3 separate regions of the Homo sapiens genome follow, and regions 2 and 3 are each linked to region 1. The links are contacts of gene promoters, found by promoter capture Hi-C in blood cells and fetal thymus (Javierre and others, 2016). All regions are on one chromosome and are shown on one strand. Each heading gives the region's core, a stretch centred on a gene start or on the middle of the fragment in contact. The rest is flanking DNA. Distances are from core to core; before and after follow the strand shown. Region 1 holds the start of MBNL3 (muscleblind like splicing regulator 3). Region 2 overlaps THOC2 (THO complex subunit 2). Region 3 overlaps TENM1 (teneurin transmembrane protein 1).

Region 1 (2,530 bases), core at 20-2,519:
GCCAAGGAGAAGATGGAAATATAATCAGGAAAAATCCAAGGTGTCTGATAAGCCTCATTGTCTATTTACCTTTCACTGGAGGGGGAAACAAAACAAAACAAAATTCAGATAAATTGTATCAAGCATGGATGTTTAGTCATTCCCACATACCAACAATCTGTTTTCCAAACATTATATCAGTAATCACCCAAACGTTTATTCACTAAAGCAGGGAGTCCGCTTAATAAAAAAAGTACCAATCACTTCAAAATTAAATCTTGCAAGTTTTGTTTTAATTGATTCTTTCCCATGAAGTCTACCCACAAATACGGAGAGGCTGTGGGGATCCCAGCTCAATTTACAAACGATGTAAGAACATCTAGGAGAAAATAACTCCTTTAAAACATATTACTTTAATTAGAGCCACAATTAATTTATCTGTTTTATCTATCATCTAGCTAGCTAGCTAGCTAGCTAGCTATCTAAGAGTGCTCAGAAAAACACACAGTAGGTCTATTACCCTAATTATGAAACCACAACAAAGAATCACTTAAATGTCAACTTTCATTACTCGTCTGGGTTTAATTTCGTTTTCTTACCATAAAAGCTTATTGTGTGAGTGTTAAAAACTAAAGTTCCCTTTTTAATAGTCTCCTAAAATCTACTCTCATGCCCTTCAAACCCCAGTAGTAAAAGCGAGCTGCCCAAACGTGTTGACTCAGGGCAGGAAGAGACAAGGTTCTGCAAGGAAGCTGTGGCACTGCTCACGATATCGCGTGAAAATGGGGAAATTCGTTGTTAAAAAGCATTTGCTGATTATATGCCATGCAAGAAGTTCCTTTAAATTAAAAAGAAGAAAGTAGAAAAAAAGAAAGAAGGAAGGAAGGGGAGGAGGAAGAGAAGAGGAGGAAGAGAAGGAAGAAGAAAAAGGAGGAGGAGGAAAGGAGGAGGAAAATGATCAAAGCTCTAAAATCGCAACAAAGTTGCAGGATGACTTTTCCTCCTATTTGCTATTTTGTAAAATGAAGTTTAAAAGGCATTATTTCCTCGGCGTCCGAGGAAGGCAGCCTCTCTTACAAATCCCAATTCATCTCCAGCCTTACCTTACGCTGCTAGCGCAAACCCAGAGGCTAAGGGGCCCTGCTCTCAGCGGCAGCAGCAGGGGCAGCGGCAGCGACAGCGGCACATGCCATCTGTTAGCGGCAGAAGCAAAAGCAGCGCTGCGCGAGGTGGCCCCGGTGCCGGGAGAGCCTTTAGCAGGGGTGCATACTGAATGCCGCCATTTTAAAGCGAGGTTCCTGAAATCATTAGATATAAGCAAATTAAAGCCCGCCCCACCTCCAGAACTTCAGGGCTGGGACTTGCAACCCGGCTCCAAGTCGGCCGCTCTGGGGTATAAAATGTCAAGTCTACAGACACGCGCACGCTGACTCTCGGACGGAGGCGACGGTTCCCCCTCTCCCTTCGGCCCCCTTGACCCCTTCGTGCTTTTTGCAAGACTCCTTTCGGTTCCAGGGGCCAGAATACTTTCTTTTCTGGGCTCCTCGAGGCCCCTTCCCGGGGCCGGCCGGCGGGCTGTGGGAGGAGGGGACAAGGCCACGGGCCGGCCCTACCCGCTCCTCCCAGGCTCTTGGTTCAGTCCACTCGGAGCACACCTCGGAGCGCCCCAGCTCCCTCGCGGAGGCCGGGCGTGGGGCTCCCGCCCGGGCTCGCAGCTACCATAGCAACCCCGGTCCCAACCCCGCCCGGCCTTTGCCAAAGGCGTGCCCTCCTCCCGGGCCAGTGCCCTCCGCCGGACGCCAGACGTCCCCTCGCGCAGCCCCGCCGACCCCAGGCAGCCCGGGCTGGGGCCGCGCCTCCGTGCGTCCCGCGCCGGACAGACGCGGCACGCGGAGGGAAACGGCGCCAGCGAGGGGCTTTAGGCGCCAAAACGGAAACTCCCGCGAAACTCCGCGGGCCAGCGGAGCGCGGGCGGGCATCCGGAGCGCCGGACTCGGAAGCGGCGCACGCGGCCGCCCGGCCCCGCCCCGCCCGGCCAGGTAGCGCGGCGCCGCCGCCAACCTCACCTGGCTCCGCGCGCCGCTGCGGGACGGGCGGGAATGCGGCCAAGGGCCGCCCCGGCTCCCGCGCCCACCCCGGACTCTCTGGCCTCCGCCTCTCTCTCACTGCTCCCAAAGAGCGCCAAAAAGTCGCGCTGCGGCTCACGCTCGGAGTGCGGGCACTTTCTTCCTGTAGGGCGCTGTTTCGTCGCGAAATATATTCTTTGTGTGGTTCGCTCACTCGTGCCTGGTTCTCCGAGAGCGCAGCGCGGGCTTTATTCTCAGGGGGTGTGGCGCCTCGCCCCCAAACCCAGCAGCCCAGCCCCCGCTGCACAGACCCTTTGTCATTTCATTAGGAAGGGAAAGGGGGACAAATCATAACGCTCAGATTTTACAAAAGCGAAAACAAACGAAGCAGGCACACATCCCCAGAGGCGGGGTTGGGGTAGGGGTGCAAAGTTTCTGGCTCTTCAGGAACTGAAGTGCCAGTGAGAAAGGCAGTGTGGTTCACA
Region 2 (2,530 bases), core at 15-2,514, 8.8 Mb before region 1:
CTGTCTCAGGTCCCTGAGAATGAGGACAGAATCTACTTTCTGTCAAAAGATGTATGGAAAACTGAATAAAATGTCTGAAGTTCCTTCAAGGACTTAAAAGGTATTTTGTGAATACTTCTTAACATGAGTATACGGCTTTTCATCTTACTTGTTCCCATTTTCCAGTAAAAAGGAAACAGAGTCACAAGCTTAAACTACTTGATTATGCTCACATCTCAAATGTGGCTTTCATATATAGAAGGCTGATGTTCATTTACGCTTCACTTAATTCTTTAAAACAAGACAACAAAAAGGTTAAATGTAGTTAAATAAAGTGCTACCTCTATTATCATTTGTAGAACAGAAACATAACCCACAAAAATGAATACTGGGACAACACAGTTTTATCTTGTAGAAACATGCATTTAAAAGAAAAGGAAACAGGAAATGTTAAAAAAAAAAAAGACAACAGGAGTTGCCGCACTTACAGTAGGAAAAAAGCACAAGTATATTGACAGCACTCACCCTACCTAAACGTTAGAGCATTACAGAATAATTTTTTTTAACAAACAAAGTAGTAGCCTATACAACCTCCTGACATTGCTTCAACATTTTGTGAAGAATGTTTCTCTTCCCAGGAAAACAGACTAAGACTTATACTTAGCTTATGAATACAGGTCGAAATGGGAAATTAAATGCTAAATGAAAACTGAGACATCAAGAAAAGGTTTCAGATAAAGCTTTGGCTGAATTTGGAGCAACTTTGCGAGGAAAAAAGACTCAACCACCAAGACTAAAATTTCTTAGAATGATTATATCCCTTTACCTGGAATCCTCCAAGAAATTCAGATCAGATGGCATGTTCTGAACAACCAAATATACTTAAATAAGTTCTAGAATGTCTAAAATCATGTAGTAGCAGAAGAAGAAAAAGAACAACAATCAAAACATTTGGCAATTAAATTTTAAAACTTTATTGTAACTACCATTAATAAGGTAAGACCTAACAAAACTTTCTAATTGATACCTAAATAAGCTATTCAAACAAACAGATGATATTCAACAAACGTAAGTATTTCAAAATTAGACTAAGTATTAACATGAGGCTAGCATCTTCAGATTAAGAGCTTCGAATATCAATTCTCCATTAAGGTTGCCTGTAACAAAGAAATGCTGAGTTCACTGTGTTAATGATTTCTACCAAAAACAGAATTCTACACTGGATCTACCAGTACATGCAAGTTTATTAGCTTCATCATGGCAAGTTCTACGTCAATATAAAATAATCAAGAAACTAAAACTAATTCCAAAATTAAGTGATTAAATACATATCTTTCAGAATTTGGAAGAGTTTGCATTTAGATATAAGTATTATTGGAAATTACAATTACATTTTGGTAGTCCTCCTTTGCCCTTCTGATCCCTCTTTAAGATCACTTTAAAGGTCACTCTTTAAGAGTTCTATAATTTAGCATTAAAAACATAATTGGTATCTCTGGAAACATAATGGGATATCTAGATATGTGATGGATGGACCATTCAGATAGGCAAAATACAGTTTTACTTTTCTCTCTAATTACCTAATAAAACATTCTTCAAAGTCAAGACCTTCCATTTAATAGACAGTTGTTTTTCATGGCGTACAGTTAAGAATTTGCCCTATCTGAAAGTTATAAAATGCCCCATACATCTCTTATGTTGCTTTCAACACTAGCTGACTACCACCCCCAGAAAAGATTTATGCTGGTAAGAAGTGACAGACAAGAAATGAATTAACAACCTCATGAAATATATCACATTATTTTTAAAAAGATAATTTTCAGTCAAGTTAAAGCTTATCTGCTAATTTATCTTGTTAAAAAGGAAAAATTCACCCAAGGTATAATTTTAAATATTGGTCATATTCTAAACGCCAAATCTATAGCTTCACTAATAATGTGGTGGCACACTACCTTCATTTTTAACATTTCCAGTTGCTGTTTTATATTTCAGAAGCTGTTTTCAGACAAAGGAAAAAGGTTTTTTGTAATATATTTGCACCACCACGTATTCTGCCTAGTAATATGAAAATGCTAACACCTATCTTTAGGAAGACACAAAAACTCCAAAGACATGCTATATGCAACAAAGTTTCATAGAGGGAAAACAGGTCAAATAAACTGAAACTAAGTACTGGATGGTGATGTGTTTAACTATTTAAAATAGCTTATTATGTTACACAATTTTAAATTCTCTTCCTGTAACAGAATGCAATCATAAAACTGACTATACTGATTTGGATCTACTATAATTCAATCCACATTCCACAAGTCATGCAATAACTACATACACGTAAGTTCTAATAACAGGTTTTTTTGCTGTTGTTTTTGGTTTGTTTTTGTTTGGGTTTTTGTTTTTTTTTTTTTTTTAAAGAGTTTCGCTCTTGTTACCCATGCTGGAGTGCAACAGCGCGATCTCCGCTCACCGCAACTTCCGCCTCCCAGATTCAAGCGATTCTCCCGCCTCAGCCTCCTGAGTAGCTGGGATTACAGGCATGTGCCACCACGCTCGG
Region 3 (2,530 bases), core at 15-2,514, 8.1 Mb before region 1:
TAGTTTACACACAGTAGGAGTCACCAATTTTAAGCGTACAATTTAATGAGTTTTGACAGTCATTGAATCAGGTAACCACTACCACAATCGTGATAGCATTTCCATCACCCCCAAAACTTCTCATTTCCCTTTACGTCAATTTAACATCCCCACCAACTGTTTTGTCCCCCATGCAGGATTTTCAATCATTTGTTTACATAGTGATAGATTTCTAGAAAAGTTTACATGACATCATAATAACCTTTGACACAAAACTGCTTGAGTTAGAAGGAACCCTTCTGTTCACTCTTATCCGACTACCCACTGTAATTTACAATCACATACAACTAGTTGTTTCTAATTCTTTTGAAGAATTTGATTCAATAATATAATGTTTTTTACTCCCAAGACACTCCCTTTACTTTGCCAGCATATAGAACCTTATCAACAGAGGGGATCTTAGGAAATGGGCTTTTGAGCCAGACTGCCTGAATTCAAATCCTGTGATCACTGCTTACTAGCTGTGTGACCTCTCTGTGCCTCAGTTTCTTCATCTGTAAAATGGGAATGATAATGATAAACCCATCTGGTAAGGTGTTATAAATAGTAAATGAGTTAATATGTGGCAGTATACATGGTAAGGCTTCAAGGAATGCTAATTGCTGCTGTTATGGTTAATACTACCACTAATAATATATTGCACCATCCATGTCCCTCTTTTTATAGATGAGAAAAGTGCAAAATTATGGGCATACCAGTTCTTCCTCAAAATCATACTCATTTTTCTCACCCAACTTTGGCTATATTATTTACCTTGGACATTTTTTGCACTATGCTAATTTGCCCTTGCTTAAGTACTTTGCTGTTGACCAATTCATCTGTGTAACCATACAACAGATATTTAAAATTTTTTTATACCAAATCATTAATGCTCATATACAGGTGAAATGGTATATGAAATAATTCTTTCTTTCTAGTTATCTTAGTGAGGTTGATCCAAGATTAACAAAAATAGGCTAGGCACGGTGACTCGTGCCTGAAGTCCCAGCACTTTAGGAGGCTGAGGTGGGCGGATGGCTTGAGTCCAGGAGTTCAAGACCAGCCTGGGCAACATGGCAAGACCCTGTCTTTACAAAGAAACAAAAACAAAAATTAGCCGAGCACGGTGGCATGCGCCTGTAGTCCCAGCTACTCAGGAGACTGAGGTGGGAGATTCGCTTGAGCCCGGGAGTTAGAGGCTGCAGTGAGCCAAGATCGTGCCACTGCATTCCACTCTGGGAGACAAAAAACAAAAAAACAAAAACACAACCAAATATAGCAGGTTCTATGATTTGGAAGCCCCAAGAATTCCTGGACCCCAAAAATCAATACTGCCCAGTAGCCTTGATATAGGAAATCTCCTGTCTCCAGGGGGCTCCTTAGGGGGAAAAGCACTGTTACTTGACTGAAAACTGCAGATATATTTTTAAATAGATTAATCTGATTAATATATCTCCAGTCAGGCTCCTTATCTAAATTTTCACAAAATAAATGCTTCCACCAAACCTGAGGAGAAGGAAGTTAAAATAGTGTCAAGTGAATGAAAATCCAACTCTGAGCACCCTGTAGCTGAGGACCAAGGCAATTTCTCAGAATAGAGGGAAAGGCCAGAGCCCTCTTGGCTGCCCCCACCAATTCCCCATCATTTGTCAGCCTGAGACCCTGTGTTCAACCGAGCTTGTTTCTCCTTCTCAGCTCACATCTGAACACTCACGTTTCATTTAAAAACCAACCTACCCTATTCTCAGTTATGTTTGAGTAGAGGAAAAAAGTAAATTGGGAGAGTTTTAGATAAGTCCTTGCTTCATTTCATTTGTAAACACATAATAATCCTACCTGATTTTATAATTTTGGTCATAAAGTGCTAAGCCCCCTCCATTGTTTTTCTTTTAATAAAGGAGGCTGCAGTTCAGGGATTTTGCTATAACCTTACAACTCAGTCTACAAAATCTTATAAACAGCTCTGGGATCCAAAGCTGGGATACATCTCATATGACAGCATTGTTATCCATGGACATAGCAAGGTACAAACTGGATGTAGTTCCTAAACCAGTATGCTTTTGGTAAATGCCCAATTCTTTTTACAATTGCCTCTATTGTTATCTGCACTCTAATTTCTCTATTGTCCAGGGAAATGTATTTATGGGGACAGATTGATGCAGCAGATAAGCAGATACATGGACTAGATGCAAAAGTGCCTTGCAAGGAAGGAAGATGAGTCAAACACAACTCAGGTTGGAGGGAAATGGATTTTTTAAATAAATGAAATTTCAGGATGTTAATGTGACTTATTTCACTTAATGGAGCTGGTGAAGGATGGCTCAGAGGTAACAAATCCCTTGCCTGCTCAGGCTGAGCAGGGTATCATGTTTCCCAAAAGTTTGCCTCCCTCACCTTAAAAAGGATCCTGACGTTGCATGAAAAAAAATCACTGATTATTCTCCAAAGATAGGTCTATCCTTTTCTGATTTTTTTTTCTTTCCAGCTAAAAGGTCTGGGGGAGGTGTGATCG

The links. Contacts are between HindIII fragments. The CHiCAGO score rates a contact against its expected background, and 5 or more counts as called.
Region 2: a fragment that was not itself captured here is called in contact with the fragment with the promoter of MBNL3 in region 1 in 2 of 17 cell types (total CD8 T cells and naive CD8 T cells); the score reaches 5.8 in total CD8 T cells.
Region 3: a contact is called between a fragment that was not itself captured here and the fragment with the promoter of MBNL3 in region 1, in 1 of 17 cell types (naive CD8 T cells). The highest score is 5.5, in naive CD8 T cells.

The regions. Positions count from the first base shown.
Region 1 is chrX:132,487,769-132,490,298 of GRCh38, forward strand. MBNL3 (muscleblind like splicing regulator 3) reads right to left here and starts at 1,270. Exons shown (of 9, transcript NM_001386889.1): 1 at 1,083-1,270. RefSeq lists a silencer at 1,549-2,118. The HindIII fragment of the contact is 7,236 bases long and covers 585-2,530 here.
Region 2 is chrX:123,727,812-123,730,341 of GRCh38, forward strand. The region is part of intron 1 of THOC2 (THO complex subunit 2); the gene reads right to left. Among named protein-coding and RNA genes, the nearest start is that of THOC2, 4.0 kb to the right of the region's middle. The HindIII fragment of the contact is 1,094 bases long and covers 718-1,811 here.
Region 3 is chrX:124,398,692-124,401,221 of GRCh38, forward strand. All of the region lies in intron 30 of TENM1 (teneurin transmembrane protein 1), which reads right to left. Among named protein-coding and RNA genes, the nearest start is that of SH2D1A, 53 kb to the left of the region's middle. The HindIII fragment of the contact is 3,150 bases long and covers 1-2,530 here.